Linked DNA regions of Homo sapiens: regions 1, 2 and 4 are each linked to region 3. Evidence: promoter capture Hi-C in 16 types of primary human blood cells and fetal thymus (Javierre and others, 2016). All regions are on one chromosome and are shown on one strand. The core of a region is centred on a gene start or on the middle of the fragment in contact, and the rest is flanking DNA. Distances in the headings are between cores, read along the strand shown. Region 1 overlaps PGM5 (phosphoglucomutase 5). Region 2 overlaps PGM5 (phosphoglucomutase 5). Region 3 holds the start of FXN (frataxin). Region 4 overlaps PGM5 (phosphoglucomutase 5).

Region 1 (6,133 bases), core at 936-3,435, 520 kb before region 3:
TGGGTCCAAATTTCCCCTTTTAATAAGGACACCAGTCATATTGGATTAGACCTCACCCTAATGATCTCATTTTAACATGAGTACCTCTGTAAAGGCCCCGTCTTAAAATAATGTCACATTCTGAGGTATTGGCAATTAGGACCTCAACGTATGCACTTATGGAAGACAAATTCAACCCATAATATTAGTCGTATGGTCTGTGTTACAACTTCTCAACTGCCACTGTTGCACAAAAGCCGCCACAGGTAATACATAAATGAATTAGTGAAGCTATATTCCAATAAAACTATAGGCACTGTAATTGACTTAAGATAATTTTAACATGTCACAAAATCTTATTTTTTTCCCAACCATTAAACATAAAAACCATTTTTATGGCTGCACCAAAACCAGGTGGTGGCCAGGGTTTGGCCTAAGGCCTATAATTTGTTGATCCTTGCCTTATAGGTTTCTGAATATGACACGTTATTTACAATTTCTGATTACATTCAGTACAGCATGTATCAACATGAGTTTGGGTAAACCATACACACTATAAATTTCAAAATTACATTTGTATTTGTGTATATTTGTATACATAGATGAATTGTGAAGTTTTAGGGAAAAAAATATCAAATCTCTCTGGAAATCTCCAGCATGAGGCTTCTGAGGTTGAACTCCATAGCTTTTGATTGCAACCAAACATGAAAGGGAAATGATTATGTTTGTATTCATGAAATCAAATTCCTTTTTCAGGTCTTTTGTTTCTTGTCAGAAGGGTTCTTCATTTTTCTTTTTAAAGCAATTGCTTACACATGATTTTCAGAAGAGCAGCACTATGTCAGAAGAAAAGGGAAAAACGTTAAGAAATAAATGGGATGAAAAAAGAAAAGTATGAATATGAGCCCTGGTGAATTCTTACAAAGAAAGGGAAGCAAACACGTGACATTCAGTAGTGACCCCAAGCCAGGGAGTGCTGTGACATTGCATGTCCCTGTGAATGGGGCTTCCGGGAGCTGATAACAAGGTTCTAGTGCATTTCAGTCACATTAACAGTGATCCTCAAACCCAGTCTCCAAGGAACCTCACCCCATTTCCCTAGGAAGTAGCAATTCTGTTGTTTTTATTCTTTCTTTCTTTGCTTTTAATTATATTCTTGGGAATTACAGTCAGGACAGTCAGTGTGGTGTTTAACAAAAGCTAAGATACTTTGATGATATACTGAGATTTCCCAGTTATACATTTTAGACTGTCTTTGACCATGTAAGTGTTTCTATATTGTTGAATCAAGCCGCTGGCTCTGACTCATATCAGCCCATGTTTTTCAGAATTTGCAGTCATTATGAATTCACTTTCCTTTTAATGGATAAGATTTGATAAAAAGCTTAAAAGAAAGTACTTTTACACTGTTTTTAACAGCGCTTTATACTTTTGCTACACTAAAGGTAGTTCTTGGACTAGCAGCATCAACATCACCTGGTTGCTACTTAGAAATGCAGAATCTCGGGCCCCAACCCAGATCTACTGACTCAGATTCTGTATTTTAACAAGCTCCTCAGGTGATTCATGTGCACATTAAAGTTTGAGAAGTCCTAATGCTGGGCGTGGTGGCATTAGCCTATAAAGTGCCATCTACTCAGGAGGCTGAGGTGGGGAGGATCCCTTGTGCTTAGGAGTTGAAGACCAGCATGGGCAACTTAAGGAGGCCCTATCTCTAAAAAAAGAAAACTGATGCTGGCTGTACTGGCTTAAACCTCCAATCCCAGCACTTTGGGAGGCTGAGACGGGTGAATCACCTGAGGTCAGGAGTTCGAGACCAGCCTGGCCAACATGGTGAAACCCCTTCTCTACTAAAAATATAAAAATTGGCTGGGCATGGTGGCAGGTGCCTGTAATCCCAGCTACTCAGGAGGCTGAGGCAGGAGAATCGCTTGAACCTGGGAGGCGGTGGAGGTTGTGGTGAACCAAGATTGCACCACTGCACTCCAGCTTGTGTGACAGAGTGAGACTCCATCTCAAAAAAACAAGCAAACAAACAACAACAACAACAAAACTGGAGGGAAAAAAGGGCAAGAAGTCCTGTGATGGATGACCTTTGGGATCCTTATTTCCACCTCTGCTTAGCAGGACTGACATTGTCTCCACACCAGACAAACCCTCTAATGCCAAACTAAATAGGATGCATTTATAGGGGTGCCTGGCCTCTATTTCTTCCTCATTTAGGAAAATCATAAAGCATGCAGAAAATAACCCAGACAAATGTGCCAAGATCCTTGAAGACTTGTTCCTGCTTCTCAGGTCAATTAACAAAAAAAGAAACAAGAAAATCAGTTTCAAGTTGCATCTCCATAGAAACCCTTTCTCAATATCAACTCAGCAGTGTTAGACAGTTTTCTTCACACAATTATACTAGTTGAGCTGAGAGATTCAAAATAACAGTGGATGAGGTAAAGAAAGTTCTAATTTGATTTTGCCAAGGCACAAAGCCTTGCTAAAATTGTGGGTAGACAGTCTAGCACACTTCAATTACTAGGAAAAGGTCAATTATTTAAAACACTTTAAATATGTTAGGTTAAATGGCAGCTGAGTCTAAAGGCAAAGGCCATAAAAGAACATGTTCCTTTGTCCAAACTGCATTCATAAAGTGTGCATTAACCATCCATTAATTTCACTAATAGTCTTTCTATTGTGGGGAAGAGTCTCTCCTCGTTTACAGGGCTCATTTCCATGTTTTTAGTGCCTGGTGTTAATGACTGTCCCACTACTGCCTCCTCCGTAAGACTCAGGTGGCCCTCACGGCAGAAGTTCTCTTCTAGTTTGCTTCTGCTACTCAACTCTGCCACTCAGCTTTGCTCAATGTGGAAGTCCTTGCTAACTTCTTTAGAATCTGATACACCCTTAAGGAATGTGTTCCAAAAGCTATGATGTCTGTTCCTTCTGTTGTCAACATCACCTTACGCAACTGCAATCTGATTGTACTCTCTCTGGCTGGATATATAGGGCCTGTTGCACACAAACAGAAATGCAGGCAAGCTTTCCCCCACTGGGTGTGTCACTGACCCTCTTGCTGACACAGAGAGATGTTGCCTCTGATTTGAGTGGCTTTCTCACTCCAAGAGCTGGGAACACCCCAACATTCTTAATCTCTTTTTATTTTATCTTTTATCAAAAAGATAACATGAACTTTATTTTATGGGCAAATAAACTTAAGCTAGAAGGGTTGTTGACTATCTACCAAAGGTCAGCTTATTGGGACTGGTATGCTGGTCCACTCACCTGTAGCCTACTTTTCTATTAATAGCAAGTCAGGCTTCTGTCTTCAATGATGATGATAATGGTAATAATAATAATAACAATAGTATCAAGTGCTTGCCCCGTATGGGGGCTAGGCAGAATGCTATGTGTTTTGTGTGTGTTATATCTCATTCTCACCACAATCCAATGCTATAGGTAGTCATGCTATCCATCCATGTTTTACAAATAAGAAAACTTTGGCCCTGAGAATTTGAACAATCTACTGTTTCTAAACAGTGTCCCTGGTATTTGAACCTAGATTTGGGCCTCAGAGCCCAAGACCTTAACTAAGGTCCTTATTATGTGCCATCAAAAAATATGGGGGTGCTCACCCACCTATAAAAAGTAAATTGGAGTAGACCAGCATTCCCATCTTCAATCTGGCATAGTTAACACACCTCAATCCATCCTCTAGGAATGTTCTAGAGGCAGTCCTCAAGCCCCACAATTCCAGACTAGTAGAAGGTGTGGTCTCTCTTTCAGTCCTCCTATTCCCTTTTATGTCCTCAGATCCTTTCCCAAGGGCTAGCCCTTTCTTAGAAGGCTGTACCCTCTGGAAGCTGGAGAATGCCACTGTGCTGCTTGTAACTGGTTACCTCAAGTAGGCTGTGGGGTGGCAGTTAGGCGAAGTACAGAGAGACTGTGAACTCTTCTCCCGGAGAAGCAGCATCACCACCTGGGGTGAACCTCACCATGGGTGGGCCTGAGAGGAGGTAGTGGGGTGGGCCTCCACCATCTGGCCACTGAGGTCCCTGCCTGGGCCTTGGCAGTCCCTCAACATGGGAGGGGGAAGAGCACACACTCTCAGGACTCCACTCAGCCAGGAGTTCTCCTTGCCAAAGTGGGCCTGGGGTCTCAGCCTCTTTGCTTTGTGACGTCCACCACACAGCTGCTTTGCCAGCTCTAGTGTGCTCCTAGGAGGGCTGGGTTGAGTGGAGACAGTTCCTGGATTTCATGTTTATATAGTTCTGTTTTTTTGTTTTGTTTTGTTTTTTGTTTTTTGTTTTGAGACAGAGTTTCGCTCTTGTTGCCCAGGCTGGAGTGCAATGGCGCGGTCTCGGCTCACTGCAACCTCCGCCTCCTGGGTTCAAACAATTCTCCTGCCTCAGCTTCCTGAGAAGCCGGGACTACAGGCATGCACCACCACGCCCGGCTAATTTTTTGTCTTTTTTTTTTTTTTTAAATAGAGACGGGGTTTCTCCATATTGGTCAGACTGGCCTCAAATTCCCGACTTCAGGTGATCTGCCCGCCTCGGCCTACCAAAATGCTGGGATTACAGGCCTGAGCCACTGCGCCTAGCCTAGTTCTGTGTTGTAGTCATGAGCAGTTGAGTCCATGCTGAGAGTTTGCATCTCAGGGCATAGGCATAATAGGGGACGGGGAGGACTGCAGTACCTTTACTCCCCAAATGGTTGCTGGGCTCTTACGCAAATCTGCCAGCCCTCCGCAGTAGTCTTCAAGGCCCTCATAATACAAAAATCTCTATTTCAGAAAAAGAGAAAATTTAAATTAGAATGCCCCAGATTCCTGGATATGTAACTATCCAGGTAAAATTTATACTTATTAATATTAAAATTATTTCACTGCCTCTAGTGTACTATTGCTTGTTCAGTGGTAGCAAATTCAGTCACCCACCAACACAGGCAGTAAGTCCTAGATTGGGGCCAATTTAAGACAATAGAGCATGGTGGGCACTCTGGTGATGCTCAGCTGTCTTTAATTATTGCATTGTTAATATGTGAGCTCAAGGTTGCCAGGTTTTCTGATTTTAAAAGGAGCAAGATATCTGGACTTTCAAATGAAATTTGATTTTTAAATATTGGCAGGAAAATGATTACAAAACAACACAAATCCCATATGAAGGACTTCTAACTTTTAGTAGTGGTGGACTAGGTGATTCAAACTAACCTTCCCTCTGTAAAGAGCTGAAAGAAATATATTAAAGCATCTTATTAAAAGCATGGTTGACCAATGACCTAATAAAACAGTAACAAGAACAGGAAAAGGGTTGGCACTCAGGAAAATGAGCCAAAGCTCTTTCTGTCCTAGGGAATTTGTCCATCTAGGAGAGGTACTAAAGAAGAGGTGCTTTTGATGACTGGCACAGGGTAAAGGTGACCGGCATCAGGTCCAGGTGGAGGAGGATCTGGTCTATTACAGTCTGCCTCTGCTAACCAGGAGACTAACCAAAGAGGCAGCAAAGAGGCAGACCTGTGTGGCATTTTCGTGTGGCCAAAAGAAATATGGTTAGTTAAGTACACATCAAAGGCAGAGATCCTGGCTTAACAATCCCTGCTCTAGGGTGTAAACTTGAAGAAGACCATTCCAAAGGTGGTATACAGACTGTACTCCAGAGGATTATAAATCCATGGCTCTGATCTTCTGGCTCCCTGAGGAGTCTCATGAAAGGAAATGAAGGAAACTAACAATATTCTAGGTCTCCAGTTATTTCTATAAGCAATTTTTCAAACAAAATGGGCACCAAACAATAAAAGATTATAAAGCACTTGGATACACAAAGCAACACATACCAGAATCAACAGAAACAACATACCACAGAAAAAGATCTATAGATACTGGAATTTATTCAATACACACTGTAAAATAGTTATTTTCACTATGTTCATGGAAATAAAGCACTGAATGTAAAAACATCAGCAAATAACTGAAAACTATAAAAATACACCAAGATGTTGAAATTAAAGAGCTGAGAAAGATAACCAAAATTAAGAACATAAATGGATTTAACAGCAGCTGAAGAATATCAGTGAACTTAAAATATTTCAGAAGAAACTATGCATCTGATTTTTCAGTTTAGTCCTTATGATTTGCAGAACAAAGAATATAAGATTGCTGCCT
Region 2 (6,372 bases), core at 1,444-3,943, 540 kb before region 3:
TAAAATGGGAAGCTGGGTGCAATGGCTTATGCCTGTAGTCCCAGCTACTTGGGAGGCTGAGACAGGAGGATTGCTTGAGTCCAGGAGTCCAAGATCACCCTGGGCAACACAGCGAGACCTCATCTCAAATTTTTAAAAAAGCGAGAAAGAAAATAGAATGAGGGAGACCCTGTTTCTGGTTAGTCGGGAAGTTCTCATCTCCCTGTTTCTGGTTAACTGGAGTATTGTTATAAAGAATTACCTTCTCCTGGCATAAGTTGATTGCTTTAGAACTATTGTCTAAAGTGTCAGTAGTAAAATTGTCCTAAAATGTGTAGCAAGCGTGTAAGCATTATCGAATGACAACACAGTTACTTTCTATTGGAATACTAATGTCTCTGTGTTGTCGGGTGGATGAGCTTCACCAGGAAATATAAATATAAAAGAGAAAAGCTGCAAATGATCACAGGAACTAAGGGAGGAAGCTATGCCGTTGTCTGGGTAAAGTGTGCCTGAATCCAAAATATCCCAGAACTGGGGTGGATATTGTGTGAACAGGGATCAGCAGTCATTGGCCAAAGAAATGGGGAAATAGAAGGTGCATGATTTTGTTCCATTGTTCCAGTTTTGAGAGTTGGAATTTGGATGAGGAATAGCTTTCAAGTCTTCGCCCTCCAGCAGCCCTCTCATCACCTAGCATGGCTTTTCTAGGTGAGTGCTTTAAAAGAGCGTGTAAGGAGTCACTTGACCTTGATTTCCCCAGATAGTTCTTTGCAATTGTTAGCCCCCAAGAAGGCTGGTTGGTTTTTAAAAGAGGCTGGGTGAGAACTGCTCCCAAGAGCAGGGCAGCTGAGTATGGCTGTGCAGTCAGCACACTGCACAATGGTACCCAGCCTAATGGGGAAGGAGAAGCTGAAGTCCAAGCCAGCCGAAGGAAGGATGGTTTTCTGCAATTTATCCATGCTGGGGGTAGAGGGGGGCACCTGTTTTTAACTCACACAAAAGCACCATATGGAGTAACTGCTGCCTTGCTCAACCACTTTTGGACTCATGCTCACAGCTAACTCTATGAATTATTAAACAAAGAAAAATGGGTAATTCTAGGTGGGTTTTTTTAGTGTGTGTGGAAAGATACGTCTGTTCAATCCAAATCTCCTGCTTTCTAGGCTGCATGCCCACTTCTACAAAATATGGTTCAGATGTTACGAAGCAGTATCTTCACCTTGACGCTTTCCAGATAAATCGTTGTGATTTCCTGTGGGAGATAAGATCTGAGTTAGGCTCGCAGAGTCTCTCTCTTCCAAGGCTGTCCTGTCTCCAGGTTCACATGCCTGCTGTGGCCAACTGACTATATATGCGACACTGTACCAGATTGCAGGGCCATATGCTGTTTTCCCCTGGAATTCATCCCAAGTCAGTATTTGACTAGGTCCAATGCTGCCAAATAACTGTTGGTAATGTACAGTTCACCCTTCCCTGCCTGGCTACAACATGTCCTACAGTCTCCAAACTAATATCTGGCAGCTCTGTGTGTATTTAGCAACTTACAGATTTCCCTGTATTGATTTACACAAGGGTTTATTTTTAAAATTAAAAAAATAGTAAAAACCCTAACATTTATTTATCAAACATTTATCAGATACCTACTCTACATAAGGCTCTGTGTCAGCTTTGGGAAAAATACAAAACATAAGATATTGTTCAGATATTTCGCATGAGAAGCAATGTGTGAATATCAGTAGTTGCATATGGTTCAACCTCAGATTGTAAGCCTAGAGTCAGAAGACCTAAATGGAAGTAAATGAAGCTCCTCCATTTACTAAATACGTTACCTTGAGCAAGTGTTTTAACTTCTTTCTTTTCAATAAAAAGAGAGATTGGCAAGAATGACTCTAAGATCCTTCTTTCAGGATGTTAAGATCTGACACTCACAACAACCCAATAAGCTAGGCTGTATTATTTTTCAACTGCTTTTTAGGAAACTAAGGCTTAGAGAGCTTAAGTGACTCAAGACCACCAGCTAAAAAAGTGGCCAAGCCAGCATTCTAGCCTGAGTTTATCCAGTTGCTATTCTTGTATCATTTCCAAACTGACTCTTCATAAACAGCAAATCAAAGAGGGGGCAAATCCAGGGAGAAAAAGAGATGCTACAGTGATAACTGGAAGCACACTGAAGGATTTTTGTGTGGAGATAGCTGCATATGGACAAGGGTTATGAAATCCTTTATCAATCATTCTTCACTGGGACAAAGCTAAGGTGAGCAGAACTCGACTGTCATCATTAAAGCTCACAACCACAGGCACTGAAAAGTAAGGAAAACACTAAGCTGGAACTGAAGTGCTCTTTTGATACCCACACTCCTCCCCACCACATAATTAACATTGTCTTCTAATAAAGGAGAGCATATTTTTCCCTTTTTTGAGTGTGTGGCTATGTGTCATCCTGGATATTCCGGCTACTCTAGCTGCTGTGGCTAGTGAGATATCATGAATTCTTTCACAGTTGCTCCAGGAATTCCTACGAAGACTGTGCTAAAAAAAAAAAATAATAATGTCAGATGGTTCAAGAGGTGGTTCTGCTGCTGACAAGGCCCCAGGGGGAAGCTTTCAGGATTCAGTGGCATGAAGTTGTTTTATTAGCCTCACTGTGTTAACAGCCCTCCTACAGTCCCAGCCCAGTGAGAGCCTATGTATGAAACCTTAAATCCTAAAGGGACCTTCCTTATAAGGGACATGTAGCACAGTCCAGTCACTTGATAGATGAGGCAAGTGACCCAGAAAAAAGAGGTTATTGCAATTAGTTACTGCACATTAGAATCACCCAGAAAGCTTTTAAAATCCTAATTCCCAAGTAACACCCCAAAAGAATTAAATCACAATGTTTGGGGTGAAAGCCAGGCACCACCATTTTTTAAAGACCTCCCACTGATTTCAATATGTAGCATTTTGCAATTAATGAGCTAATGGTTTGCCTAAGGTCATACATCTGGGGACAAGAACCTACCATGGTTCAACTCCATTGTTTTTAGCCAAAACTGGCCCTTGTCTTAAGACATCTTGAGAAATGGTGGAGGAATAAACAGTCAAGCCCTGCCATGATGATGCTATGCCAGGCACTTTCTTAGTTTATCTTTTGCAACCACTCTTCAAGGTAGATACATCAGCTCTAGTTCACCATGAAGAACGTGCATGTGTTTTCATGTAGCCTGTGGATCCTTGCTAAATGCGAAGGCAGGCTCTCTGAGACTGCCTCAGGGGGACTGCAGTGGTGCTCACTTTAGTTGTCGAACGTGCAGTGACATTCATTCAACAAGTGTTTATGGAAGGTCTACAGTGTGCCAGGCATTGTCCTAGGCTATGTGGATAAAATGATGATGAATGAGGTATATAAGGCTCTGTCCTCCCAGAGCTTGTTAGCTAATGAAGAACCCAAAGTCATAACTCAGCAAGTCCAAAATTTTAAGGTTAACACTGCGGTGGAAACTTGTTTTATTCATTTTCACTGAGCCTTGTTTCTTCAAGACTTGTGGCGGCAAAAACACACATAATGAAGTTGTTAGAATATAAATAAGAAACATAAATCAAGACTAGGGAATATATAAGTAAGAGTAGAGTCAAGAACAGAAGAAGAAAAATTTATAGTCATGCAAGTCATGAGGATCCACTTGGGCTGAACCTCAAATTTGGCATTAAGTATCCTGGCAGCCATATCGAAAAGGGAAATGTGGTTAGTTACAAAGTTCTTATTGTCAGAAAGAAAAAGAATACAAGTTCCTTAGGGAAGGAAAGGCTTTCCTAATACTTGGCTCTTGAAGGAATGTCTCAGGCAGAGCTTCATACAGCCTCTAACAATATTTCTACTAGTGACTACAAAAGTGGATTTTATAAGACATAGCTTGTAGCATCCTGCAGTAAAAGTGAGAACATAAAACTAAAGTGCAATTTAATAAATTCATTTATGTTAGGAGTAGGTGGTGAGAGGTAAGTTGATTTGAGCCAAATACAGGTTCAGGTGAACCTATGACTAGAAGCTGGAACACCAGGGAATGGAGGGATTTTATATCCTTATAACAATCTACATAAACATAATTTCTCTCTACTGAGATTTTGATAATTCAAATGGTTATATTTTCTATCTTATGCTGTAGGGATAAAAGGCAAGTATTCTATGTTGTGAATAATGTAATGCCTTATACCAGGGGTCAGCAAACATTTTCTGTAAAGGGCTAGGTAGTAAATATTTTATACCTTGGGGGCTAGATGGTCTCTGCCACAACTATTCATCTCTGCCACTGCAGCACAAAAGCAGCCATAGACAAGATATAAATGAATGGACACGACTGTGCCCCAGTACAACTTGTTTCATAAAAGTAGGTGGCAGGTCAACTTCTTACCTACAGGCTACATAGTGCCAACCCCTAGTATAACCTAAAAAATAAATGCGATTATTGGTATTCTTTCATTGAAATTCAGGAACAATTGGAAACTTTGCAAGTCTTGGTCAGTGGTAACTTTGGCTTCATAGTTTAAATGCTATTGGGTGATGACACATGATGGAAAGAACATGGCTCGTGTCTGGGTTGCAAATTCATTAAGTTCGTTGAAAGAACATGCAGATCCCAAAGCAATCCAATACAGCTATTCACACATAAAAGGGGGCCTCAGCAGACATGGTGCTGGGATTGTTGCAGCACAGAACTAGGCTGGCTCTAAAGAAACCCTTACATTCCATGTGGAGAAGGAGAATTAATGATGTTCCTCACCTGGAATGGTCTTGAAAAGCAACATGGATTCTCAGTTAAGATCTCATGGTTAGTTTCCTAGGAAAGAGGGAAGATGCTGGACCATTTCCAGTAGGCTGATGCATGCTATTCACATCTTTGTCATCTTTCCAAGTGAGAAATCTATTCCAGGCTACCAGACATAGGTTCTAACAATCTTCTAGGCATGTAGCATGTAGTATAGTCAAAGACATTATAATTAACCTCAGGGGAAAACAATAACATTATTTCATTTTTAAAAGGCTTAGTTATGAGCAGATAACACATGTTTATAGTTTGTTATGACCTGAATTCTTAAATTTCCCCTCACTGGCCAAAAATGAATCTGAGAATGTTAATTGTTTAATGGGAGGTACTTCAAAGGGTTGAGTCTGGGGGCTCATCAGAAGAGGTAATCCCAAGTGACTTGGAATCTGCAACAGGTGGGTTAGGACCTCATCCTTAGATATTGCTTTAACCAATTTATGGGTAAGCCATAGTTCTGAGCAGAGTCACGTGCTCACGCGCCCCACGTGTAGTGACAACGGGAATGTAGGCTTAAACATAGGTAACAGCTTCAAAAGAGTTTGTAAAAACAAGGCTGTGAATATCAATATAATTGTGAGACTTTTGGGGATTTATTGTAGGTTTGAACGTAACTTGAAATACAGTGATTTGTAGACAGTCAGTAATTGCTTCACTTGCTCCATTTGGAATTTTGTAACTATTCACTTCTCCAGCAGCATAAGGTGGTTAAGAAGACAGTTTCTGTTCGTTGTAAAAAATTACTCCAGGCTTAAGGAGGACAACTATTGTGTCTTTATATTCATATACCCAGGATTTAGCACAGTGCCTAATCCATAAGGGCCACACTAAAATGTTTGCCCAGTGAATAAATCCTGGATAATATCATCCTGTCTGCAAAGCCAGTATTACAGAGTGATTGGTTGCCAGTAGGGGAGATAGCTCCCTTTGGTTACACAAATTGTGGCAGACATTGAACCACTCCAAAAGAAACTAAAGCTATTTATTTGGGGATTGAAACAAAAAAGCCTACACAACTTGAAAAAAGCATAAAGACACTCAGATGGAACCATAGTGTCTCCCAGCAGATATCACCAGATGGGGGTGGGGGTAAATAATTGCAGTCACATATGCAGCAGGTATATATATTTTTACTAATGGCTTATTCTTAAACAGGACTTGAGGCCAGAGAAATTTCAAGGATAAATTGCTTTGGGAGAATGCCTGATATCAATGTCTCCTGAGACATAGAAGTTTTCCAAAATAACAAATCACCAGATATATTATTTTGTTGCCTCCTCTTCCTTCCCCTGGCCCCTGCCAATATGCTTATTTACAAGAGTTACCTTATCAGTTGTCTTAGGAGAACACATTTCCTTCAACAGAAGTCACAGTATCATCTTATGGTCATAATTTTACAATATCCCTGCCTCTACTGAGAAGAGATACATAGCGAATGGAGATGTGCTGAGCCAATGAGGAATTAATCCTAGGCAGCACTAGTAGATGTGGCCACAGCTCTGGCCCCACCCCACTCTGGTGGTCAGGCCAAAAAAGAAGTCAGGTAAGAAGTGTGAAAGGAAATTCAATCTTGGGACCCCCAAACTCA
Region 3 (5,980 bases), core at 1,781-4,280:
AAGGCCTATGCTACCACAGTGCTTCTGAAACTTTAAAGCACATTAGAATCACCTGGAGGTCTTGTTAAACCATGGATTGCTGGGCCTTGAAACCCCAGAGATTCTGATTCAGTAGATCGAGAATAGGGCCTGAGAATTTGTATTTCTAACAAGTTTCCAGGTGATGCTGAGGCTGCTGGCCCAGCGACCACATTTGATAATCATAGCCCTCTGATAAATCCTATCAAAATATCCTAATGGCAGAGCAAGGGAATTCTGGTGATATCCTCCCCTACCCATAACCTGACAGCTATTAGGATCTGCCTACTTGAGGCTAAAAGCAACCAAGAGAGGAACAGCTACAGTGTACCACAGAGTCCCTCAACATCTTTGCCCACGCCACGGTGCCCCAGCTTCTTACCAAGTGTGCCTGATTCCTCTTGACTACCTCCAAGGAAGTGGAGAAAGACAAGTTCTTGCGAAGCCTTCGTCTTCTCTGATATGCTATTCTATGTCTATTTCTTTGGCCAAAAAGATGGGGCAATGATATCAACTTTGCAGGGAGCTGGAGCATTTGCTAGTGACCTTTCTATGCCAGAACTTGCTAAGCATGCTAGCTAATAATGATGTAGCACAGGGTGCGGTGGCTCACGCCTGTAATCTCAGCACTTTGGGCGGCCGAGGCGGGCGGATCACCTGAGGTCAGGAGTTCGAGACCAGCCTGGCCAACATGATGAAACCCCATCTCTACTAAAAATACAAAAATTAGCCAGGCGTGGTGGTGGGCACCTGCAATCCCAGCTACTCTGGAGGCTGAGACAGAATCTCTTGAACCCAGGAGGTGGAGATTGCAGTGAGCAGAGATGGCACCACTGCATTCCAGCCTGGGCAACAAAGCAAGACTCTGTCTCAAATAATAATAATAATAATAACTAATGATGCAGCTTTCTCTCTCTGAGTATATAATGCAGTTCTGATGATGTGAGGAAGGGCCTCACTGTTGGTGTGGCAGAGTCTGAGACCATGGCTGGCAATGAAAACACTACCCTTTGATGCCTATGGGCTCTCCCTTTATGGTTTCAAGGAGGGCTTCTCAATCTTGGCAGAATTTTGGACTGGATAGTTCTTTGTTGCACAGGTGGGGGGCTGTCCTGCACATCACAGGATGTTTCATCCCTGGCCTCTACCTACTAGATGCCAGTAGAACATACCCACCCCACAGCTGCCTGTTGTGACAATCAAAAGCATCTCCAGATACTTTGCAGGGGGAAAATGATTTCTCCAGGCCTGGCATATACATAACAGTATTTAAGCAGCTGCCTAGAATTAATTAAACACAGAAGGATGTCTCTCATCCAGAATGCCCTGGACCACCTCTTTGATAGGCAATCAGATCCCACCTCCTCCACCCTATTTTTGAAGGCCCTGTGCCAACACCACTTCTTCCATGAATACTTCCTTGATTCCCCCATCCCTAGCTCTATATAAATCTCCCACTCAACACTCACACCTGTTAGTTTACATTCCTCTTGACACTTGTCATTTAGCATCCTAAGTATGTAAACATGTCTCTCTTCACGATTCACAAAGTGGCTTTGGAAGAACTTTAGTACCTTCCCATCTTCTCTGCCATGGAAAGTGTACACAACTGACATTTTCTTTTTTTTTAAGACAGTATCTTGCTATGATGGCCGGGCTGGAATGCTGTGGCTATTCACAGGCACAATCATAGCTCACTGCAGCCTTGAGCTCCCAGGCTCAAGTGATCCTCCCGCCTCAGCCTCCTGAGTAGCTGAGATCACAGGCATGCACTACCACACTCGGCTCACATTTGACATCCTCTAAAGCATATATAAAATGTGAAGAAAACTTTCACAATTTGCATCCCTTTGTAATATGTAACAGAAATAAAATTCTCTTTTAAAATCTATCAACAATAGGCAAGGCACGGTGGCTCACGCCTGTCGTCTCAGCACTTTGTGAGGCCCAGGCGGGCAGATCGTTTGAGCCTAGAAGTTCAAGACCACCCTGGGCAACATAGCGAAACCCCCTTTCTACAAAAAATACAAAAACTAGCTGGGTGTGGTGGTGCACACCTGTAGTCCCAGCTACTTGGAAGGCTGAAATGGGAAGACTGCTTGAGCCCGGGAGGGAGAAGTTGCAGTAAGCCAGGACCACACCACTGCACTCCAGCCTGGGCAACAGAGTGAGACTCTGTCTCAAACAAACAAATAAATGAGGCGGGTGGATCACGAGGTCAGTAGATCGAGACCATCCTGGCTAACACGGTGAAACCCGTCTCTACTAAAAAAAAAAAAAAATACAAAAAATTAGCCAGGCATGGTGGCGGGCGCCTGTAGTCCCAGTTACTCGGGAGGCTGAGGCAGGAGAATGGCGTGAAACCGGGAGGCAGAGCTTGCAGTGAGCCGAGATCGCACCACTGCCCTCCAGCCTGGGCGACAGAGCGAGACTCCGTCTCAATCAATCAATCAATCAATAAAATCTATTAACAATATTTATTGTGCACTTAACAGGAACATGCCCTGTCCAAAAAAAACTTTACAGGGCTTAACTCATTTTATCCTTACCACAATCCTATGAAGTAGGAACTTTTATAAAACGCATTTTATAAACAAGGCACAGAGAGGTTAATTAACTTGCCCTCTGGTCACACAGCTAGGAAGTGGGCAGAGTACAGATTTACACAAGGCATCCGTCTCCTGGCCCCACATACCCAACTGCTGTAAACCCATACCGGCGGCCAAGCAGCCTCAATTTGTGCATGCACCCACTTCCCAGCAAGACAGCAGCTCCCAAGTTCCTCCTGTTTAGAATTTTAGAAGCGGCGGGCCACCAGGCTGCAGTCTCCCTTGGGTCAGGGGTCCTGGTTGCACTCCGTGCTTTGCACAAAGCAGGCTCTCCATTTTTGTTAAATGCACGAATAGTGCTAAGCTGGGAAGTTCTTCCTGAGGTCTAACCTCTAGCTGCTCCCCCACAGAAGAGTGCCTGCGGCCAGTGGCCACCAGGGGTCGCCGCAGCACCCAGCGCTGGAGGGCGGAGCGGGCGGCAGACCCGGAGCAGCATGTGGACTCTCGGGCGCCGCGCAGTAGCCGGCCTCCTGGCGTCACCCAGCCCAGCCCAGGCCCAGACCCTCACCCGGGTCCCGCGGCCGGCAGAGTTGGCCCCACTCTGCGGCCGCCGTGGCCTGCGCACCGACATCGATGCGACCTGCACGCCCCGCCGCGCAGTAAGTATCCGCGCCGGGAACAGCCGCGGGCCGCACGCCGCGGGCCGCACGCCGCACGCCTGCGCAGGGAGGCGCCGCGCACGCCGGGGTCGCTCCGGGTACGCGCGCTGGACTAGCTCACCCCGCTCCTTCTCAGGGCGGCCCGGCGGAAGCGGCCTTGCAACTCCCTTCTCTGGTTCTCCCGGTTGCATTTACACTGGCTTCTGCTTTCCGAAGGAAAAGGGGACATTTTGTCCTGCGGTGCGACTGCGGGTCAAGGCACGGGCGAAGGCAGGGCAGGCTGGTGGAGGGGACCGGTTCCGAGGGGTGTGCGGCTGTCTCCATGCTTGTCACTTCTCTGCGATAACTTGTTTCAGTAATATTAATAGATGGTATCTGCTAGTATATACATACACATAATGTGTGTGTCTGTGTGTATCTGTATATAGCGTGTGTGTTGTGTGTGTGTGTTTGCGCGCACGGGCGCGCGCACACCTAATATTTTCAAGGCTGGATTTTTTTGAACGAAATGCTTTCCTGGAACGAGGTGAAACTTTCAGAGCTGCAGAATAGCTAGAGCAGCAGGGGCCCTGGCTTTTGGAAACTGACCCGACCTTTATTCCAGATTCTGCCCCACTCCGCAGAGCTGTGTGACCTTGGGGGATTCCCCTAACCTCTCTGAGACGTGGCTTTGTTTTCTGTAGGGAGAAGATAAAGGTGACGCCCATTTTGCGGACCTGGTGTGAGGATTAAATGGGAATAACATAGATAAAGTCTTCAGAACTTCAAATTAGTTCCCCTTTCTTCCTTTGGGGGGTACAAAGAAATATCTGACCCAGTTACGCCACGGCTTGAAAGGAGGAAACCCAAAGAATGGCTGTGGGGATGAGGAAGATTCCTCAAGGGGAGGACATGGTATTTAATGAGGGTCTTGAAGATGCCAAGGAAGTGGTAGAGGGTGTTTCACGAGGAGGGAACCGTCTGGGCAAAGGCCAGGAAGGCGGAAGGGGATCCCTTCAGAGTGGCTGGTACGCCGCATGTATTAGGGGAGATGAAAGAGGCAGGCCACGTCCAAGCCATATTTGTGTTGCTCTCCGGAGTTTGTACTTTAGGCTTGAACTTCCCACACGTGTTATTTGGCCCACATTGTGTTTGAAGAAACTTTGGGATTGGTTGCCAGTGCTTAAAAGTTAGGACTTAGAAAATGGATTTCCTGGCAGGACGCGGTGGCTCATGCCCATAATCTCAGCACTTTGGGAGGCCTAGGAAGGTGGATCACCTGAGGTCCGGAGTTCAAGACTAACCTGGCCAACATGGTGAAACCCAGTATCTACTAAAAAATACAAAAAAAAAAAAAAAAGAAGAAGAAGAAGAAGAAAATAAAGAAAAGTTAGCCGGGCGTGGTGTCGCGCGCCTGTAATCCCAGCTACTCCAGAGGCTGCGGCAGGAGAATCGCTTGAGCCCGGGAGGCAGAGGTTGCATTAAGCCAAGATCGCCCAATGCACTCCGGCCTGGGCGACAGAGCAAGACTCCGTCTCAAAAAATAATAATAATAAATAAAAATAAAAAATAAAATGGATTTCCCAGCATCTCTGGAAAAATAGGCAAGTGTGGCCATGATGGTCCTTAGATCTCCTCTAGGAAAGCAGACATTTATTACTTGGCTTCTGTGCACTATCTGAGCTGCCACGTATTGGGCTTCCACCCCTGCCTGTGTGGACAGCATGGGTTGTCAGCAGAGTTGTGTTTTGTTTTGTTTTTTTGAGACAGAGTTTCCCTCTTGTTGCCCAGGCTGGAGTGCAGTGGCTCAGTCTCAGCTCACTGCAACCTCTGCCTCCTGGGTTCAAGTGATTCTCCTGCCTCAGCCTCCCGAGTAGCTGGGATTATCGGCTAATTTTGTATTTTTAGTAGAGACAGATTTCTCCATGTTGGTCAGGCTGGTCTCGAACTCCCAACCTCAGGTGATCCGCCCACCTCGCCCTCCCAAAGTGCTGGAATTACAGGCGTGAGCCACCGCGTCTGGCCATCAGCAGAGTTTTTAATTTAGGAGAATGACAAGAGGTGGTACAGTTTTTTAGATGGTACCTGGTGGCTGTTAAGGGCTATTGACTGACAAACACACCCAACTTGGCGCTGCCGCCCAGGAGGTGGACACTGGGTTTCTGGATAGATGGTTAGCAACCTCTGTCACCAGCTGGGCCTCTTTTTTTCTATACTGAATTAATCACATTTGTTTAACCTGTCTGTTCCATAGTTCCCTTGCACATCTTGGGTATTTGAGGAGTTGGGTGGGTGGCAGTGGCAACTGGGGCCACCATCCTGTTTAATTATTTTAAAGCCCTGACTGTCCTGGATTGACCCTAAGCTCCCCCTGGTCTCCAAAATTCATCAGAAACTGAGTTCACTTGAAGGCCTCTTCCCCACCCTTTTCTCCACCCCTTGCATCTACTTCTAAAGCAGCTGTTCAACAGAAACAGAATGGGAGCCACACACATAATTCTACATTTTCTAGTTAAAAAGAAAAAAAAATCATTTTCAACAATATATTTATTCAACCTAGTACATACAAAATATTATCATTCCAACATGTAATCAGTATTTTAAAAATCAGTAATGAGACCAGGCACGGTGGCTCACGACTGTAATCCCAGGACTTTGGGAGGCCGAGGCGAGTGGATCATCTGAGATCAGGAGTTCAAGACCAGCCTGGCCAACATGGTGAAACCCCATCTCTACTAAAAACTAGCTCAGCATGGTGGTGGGTGCCTGTAGTCC
Region 4 (5,688 bases), core at 2,678-5,177, 620 kb before region 3:
AGGTACACATAAGTATACCAATGGTAATGCTGCTGGAAGAGTAGCCAGGGGACTGGGGAAAAGAAGGCACCATGTTATGTGCTGGGACCTCATTCATTCTTCATGTCATAAGGAGCCAATTCTTCTCTGGACTTTTCCACATTCCATGCAAAGTCTGTCTGGCTTCCTGTCCATTTACTTTCTGGTCATTCAAGGCCTACCACTGTCCGGTGTCCAGTTGCTCCTCATATGCAGATGAAAAACCTGGGCCAGGTCAAAGTCTGAAGACCTAGAGAACTGGGCAGAGCTCTGGGCAGTGTGGGATCTGCCCACACCTCTCAGAGAGAGGAACTGAGGTGGTTGTTCTGAGAGGCAGTGAGCAGGGAGACCCTGAAGCCAAAGGCTGGCAGGATCCAGCAGGGCAGAGGCCAGCAGGGGAATTCAGGGAAGAGCCTCAGGGCTGACAATGGGGACACCTGACTACAGTCAAGGGGATTCAAAGCACAGCCTGGAACCTGGAGGAATCCCCTGGAACATGGACACAGAAATGTGGACAGCTGAAGCCATGACCTTGACCACAGGTAGGGAGCTTGCAGTTAGGGACAGGAGCCAACTTTACTTAGACATAACTCAAATTCATGTCATTTCTGAAGGAAATGAAATTTCCTTCATTTTCACCTGGTTGGAATTTATTGCTCTCTCCTTAATGGTGCATAGCACCTTGTTTATTTATGCTTTGAGTAATTGTAATATGCCTTGTTTTATAGTATTTTTATACATTTCTACTTCAACTCTTGATTATAAATTTGTTAAGGCAGGGAATATCTATCTATCTATCTATCTATCTATCTATCTATCTTATCTATCTATCATCTACACACACTAATGGTATTTTAGCTATAGCATACATAAATACATAGGTACATTTTGTTGAATTGAAATTAATTGAATTAATCCCATCCTCTTTCAGAATAGAAATTATGTTTTCTGGGAGCTAGAAACTATTGTGAGAGATGTTAGTATTGTTGAAATTTAAAAGGGGCTGTCCAGTTCAGTTGTGGCCTGGTGTGTACTGAATGACATCCAAATTCTAAGTAAGTGGAATTGCTATCAGATCTGAGATAAATTAACCATGCTCATGAGAAGATGTAGAGTGAGGAATTCCTTCCACAAATGCTCTGCTTATCTGATTATTGGTTAGCCAGTGATTTCCTGTCATCCACAAAAAAAGATGAAATAGTAAGAGAAAAGTAAATACTAGGTGAAGTGCTTTGAGCCAAAGGGAGTCCATCTAAGAAGTGATGGATGGCTCTGTTGGGATTCCGGCAGTAGTGCATGATGATGTTGGTGTATAAATACGTCAGCTCCTTTAACCCTTGGGGGACCCTGAGGCATGTGTTTTTCATGGGCCCCTAGCGTGCTCATGCAGGATTAAGTTTCAGTTGCCTACTGTGGTAATTGGCTTGAGAAGCCTATCTTTATTAATTTTCTTCTCTTCCTTGTCTTATTTCTCTTCTTCCCTACCTGTGTTCTCTTCATTCCCTTCCTCCCTACAAAATAAACTATGTGAGTTTGAATTCTTCTTTCAGGATTCAAGTTTACTCCTGGGGAACCAAATTAAGACTAAAGAATATGTATTCTCTTTCTTCTCATTTGGCGTTGAGACATTTTAAAGCCTCAACAATTTTCCCTATATAAGCAGTTCCAATTATTTGTGCCTCACTTATAAAAAGTAGGTAATGAGAAAATTAAGGCTTGCAGACAAATCTTACACAATTGCAGCAGAATATCTCAGAAATGTGCTCAATTCTCGGGCTTTCTGTTTGGTCTCTTTAAGCAGGCAACCTCAAAGAGGTGATTCTAGCTTTTGTGATTATGTGTGATTTTGTTATTTTACAGCCTACTGCTGTGGAACTCTATTGAGAAAAGACACTGATAAAGCTAATAAAATATACATCTGCTACAAAGAAAATTTTATCTCAAAAATGCTATTTCCTCTTCAGCTCTGAATGTTGACAGATTTTTTTTCCTAACGGGGTTCAGTAGGTTGGCTGGAAAGCCAAGATCAAATACCAACGGGAGGTGTGAAGACTGGCCAGCCTATGTTCAACGAGTTCACCATCCAGCTGCTAAGTTCTCCATGCTGATAAGACAAACACTCTCTGAATCGGATACGGGCCTACTGGTATCTTTAGGACCATCTGCAGCACAGCTAGGTAAAGTAGGCACAATTTTTAAGTTAGGTTTTGCAGAAGGTCCCATGAAACAGGGTTTCCTTGTCAAAATACAGTGAGACATAATAACAGAGCCATGTTTGGAGGTCCCTTCATTGACAATGGGTTATGCCTTCAGCTTTCAGGCTGATCCTGCTGAGAAGCATATGTGATTAGCCCCAAGAAGCTCTTTACTGCCCCCTAGATCCCTGTCAAATCTAGGAGATCTTGAGCTGTACTTCCCCTGGGCCCGGGGGACGTGTGAAATGCTTGTGTTGTATCTTCATTAGTGGAAATTTTTGATCAATTATCCTGGATGATCCATGTCATGGAACATTGAGCTGCGTATCCTTTCATTTCCATCATTCAGGGTGATATTCAAAATATAGGATAGGCATTTTTAACCCCAAAGTATATTGAGAAGTAAAATTAATGTTGGAGATTAGTACATTACACACCTCATCAAGCAGGAAGAGACAAGAAAGCATATAAATGCGACACAATTCTGGGGCAACTCCTGTCTTCAAAACTTATTTGCTTCAGCTATAGCCGCTGAGGCCTTACTCCTTTTCCTGCCTGTCTTGAAAGATTGTTCTATGCGGCCACCCAGATTTCTTGGGATCTGATGCTAGACCTTGGAGGAAGTCAGGTAAAGCTTTCTAGCTCTGCCTCAGTTGGACCATGTCTCTCCCCTGTCTCTGGTTTCTTGGGCTACTTTGATTTCACTTTCTGTGTTATGGAAACCTCTGGCAGTAACTGTTCCCTGTGTGCCTTACACTTCAATTGAGATGCACAATTGCCAAAGCTCTCTCTGATACCACCAGGGAGCAGCGAACTTAATTCTTCTGTCTTTGATCTCTCTCTTGTTTTGCTGTTTCTCCCCTGACAAGAGGCTGAGCTGCTTTGGGGGCCACCAAGGGCCATTCTCTCCACTTTGTCCTTCACTATATCACATCCCCATATGTCTTCCTATAGTCACCTGCTGGCGTGATTCCATTTTGTTTGTTGAATTTGACTAAAGGTGTCTTGAGCTTAGGAGTCATATCAGCCTGCCCACAAAAGTGTCCCATTTCACTGGGCAAATCAACTAGAATGTTGTTGTATTTACTCTGTGGACTTAGGAAGGGATCCTCTGGGAATTAGCCCCATGGGGTTTCTGTCACCTCCCATTCTACTTTGGCTTAGACAAGGTATCTGAGTTCAGAACCTGACTCTGTTCCTGCGCTCAGCTTTACAGACAAGTGGTATTATTTTTAGCCTGCAGACCTTTTAGTTAACACCCTGCTGCATTGAGGGTGTGAGAGAGAAGTGCTTTGGAAATCAGACTCTGTTACTGATAGCTTGTCCTAAACTGAAAAGGCGACAGGAGAAAGGATGCTTTGTGTTCAAGCAGAAGAAATCTCCGATGCTGCAGCTGCTGCTGCAGCCTTCCCCTGTGTTTCTCACCTTGCTGCGGCCTGCTGTTTGGCAGGACGACTTGACTGGCTGCGCTGTGGTTTCTGCGCCTGTGATGGCTCCTTCTGAATGCCCTCTGAGCCCTGGGGGTCTTATCAGCTGGCTGCGGCGGGGGTGGGAGATGAACAGCTCCCTTGTCAAGCCCGCTTTCTCCTTCTCCTGGGAACCCCTGCCGGGTCACCAGCCTAAACCCCCTCTAGCACCCCATGGCCTCTTGCTTGGGGTGTCAGAGTCAGAGAGAGTAAGGAGGTGTTGGGAGATGAAGTTCAGAGGGTAAAATGATACCGCAGGAGGAACCAGGCTTATGCGAGCTTTATAGTCGGCTGAAAAAGAGAATGTGGTAAAGATCAGGTGGCCCGTTTCAAAATGGCTGGAACTTTTACTTAATACTTTACAAGGTGCGCCCCTGCCCCAAAGTATAGGTGGAAATAAACCTCTGCTTTAAAATCTCAACAGAAAAATCAGATCAAAGAAATCTGGTGAAATACCTTTGATTAAATGTAACACACAATTGATCTCAATTCCATAGCTGATTATTAATTTTTAATTAGGAGTAAGATACAGGCACCATGATGTGTAGATTTTGTTGTCTAAGAAAGAAGATGAATAGAAGATAATATGTTTTAACTTTTTTTTTCCACCAAGTTTTAAAGTTCTAAGACTGCTGGCAATTTTCAATGAATATATGGGGTCTCCATCACTGGCCATTTTATGGGCAAAACAGCAAAACACAAATAGGTTTAATGCTGAGCTCCCAGCCCTTATCTTTGCTTCTCCCCCTCCATTTCCACCAGTCAGGTGTCTAGAAAAGAAGGGCATCCTGGTTGGGAGGAATTGGTTGTGGGGAGGATTTGGCCATGATCAGAGTAGGTACTGCTTCAGACCGAGCTGGGGCATTTTAAAACTGAGGCAGAAGAAGCCATACTTTAGGGGTCCGGGGAAAGAAAGTAGGACTAGGATGGCTCCACAATTCCTCTGCTGATCCTCTCAGAGACTTAGCTTTGCTTAGAAGCATTCCCTGGTAACCAGCATCTATTGCTGTCTTTACTTAGCATTTAAATGCCCCCAGTCTGGCAATGTCAGTTATCTCAGAGCCAAGACAGAATAATTTTGTGGTAGAAATCAAAGAATTTTCAGTGTAACATCTAGGGCAGGATTTGTGCCTCTTTTGCAGTGGATGGCCTTTTCCCCTCTTGACAGAATTCTGTTAGAGCCTCACATTGTTGAGATATCCCCCTCATCTCCATTCTACAGAGTGTTAATGCTGCTGGAAGACTGTCTGTTAAAATCAGATTCCCATCAGGCTTTGAATGCTCCCTACCAAATGGCGTAGCTGCCTTTGATCTGTAGTCTCACTTAAGGAAGCTTTTCAAGTGCATGGAAAATGTCTTGACCCCAGTGTTTGGACCTGTCACTGCTTGCACACCAAATCAAGGTATCATCAAGCTGAAAACGTACACCTAGAGGAATTCCTGCTATTTAATGGGCTCAGCCATTCCTGCTGTATTGATGGCAGTCTCAGCTCAGCTCTCCCTCTGGGGGCTCCGAAGACCCTAGAGTTATGTTCCTCCCAGCAGCAAACCTCTGAGGCTTGGTGTGGCTCAAAGACAGAGTCAGAGCTGCTTTGTCATCTGTGATTCTGTGGGTTGGAGGAGTAGTCAGAAGTAGGTCACATCTGAAGAAAAATTCTCTGCTTGTGATCTTGAGTACAACTGAAGGAAACTGACCCCTTTGAATTCATGAAGTAGGATGCAAGGTTCATATTATCTATGAGGACTGTAAAAATGGCTCCACTGACCTTGAGCTTATTCGCTCACAATGCATGCCAGTTAGATATGGGTATTTAGCATGCTGTATTTTAGGAATATTACATCAAATGTGGAAATACGGAGGCACATGGTAAACTGTCACGTACTATACAAATGATCATTGTGATGACATTTTCTTAAAATGGGTTATATGAAGTATAAAGAATTGAGAGGCTGACTATTGCCAGCAATTAGTTTAGTATAGCCTTGTTTATTAATCTATGGCCAGATGT

The links. The method cuts DNA at HindIII sites, captures the fragments that hold promoters and counts their contacts. A CHiCAGO score of 5 or more calls a contact.
Region 1: a contact is called between a fragment that was not itself captured here and the fragment with the promoter of FXN in region 3, in 1 of 17 cell types (monocytes). The highest score is 7.1, in monocytes.
Region 2: a contact is called between a fragment that was not itself captured here and the fragment with the promoter of FXN in region 3, in 1 of 17 cell types (M0 macrophages). The highest score is 5.7, in M0 macrophages.
Region 4: a fragment that was not itself captured here is called in contact with the fragment with the promoter of FXN in region 3 in 1 of 17 cell types (naive B cells); the score reaches 5.4 in naive B cells.

Annotation. Positions count from the first base shown.
Region 1 is chr9:68,512,609-68,518,741 of GRCh38, forward strand. The region is part of intron 10 of PGM5 (phosphoglucomutase 5); the gene reads left to right. Among named protein-coding and RNA genes, the nearest start is that of TMEM252, 25 kb to the right of the region's middle. The HindIII fragment of the contact is 1,649 bases long and covers 1,362-3,010 here.
Region 2 is chr9:68,491,710-68,498,081 of GRCh38, forward strand. The region is part of intron 9 of PGM5 (phosphoglucomutase 5); the gene reads left to right. Among named protein-coding and RNA genes, the nearest start is that of TMEM252, 46 kb to the right of the region's middle. The HindIII fragment of the contact is 225 bases long and covers 2,582-2,806 here.
Region 3 is chr9:69,032,722-69,038,701 of GRCh38, forward strand. FXN (frataxin) reads left to right here and starts at 3,031. Exons shown (of 5, transcript NM_000144.5): 1 at 3,031-3,226. The coding sequence starts at 3,062. RefSeq lists silencers at 2,920-3,389, 3,972-4,266 and an enhancer at 3,550-3,599. The HindIII fragment of the contact is 18,212 bases long and covers 1-5,980 here.
Region 4 is chr9:68,414,979-68,420,666 of GRCh38, forward strand. All of the region lies in intron 6 of PGM5 (phosphoglucomutase 5), which reads left to right. Among named protein-coding and RNA genes, the nearest start is that of PGM5-AS1, 60 kb to the left of the region's middle. The HindIII fragment of the contact is 2,165 bases long and covers 2,846-5,010 here.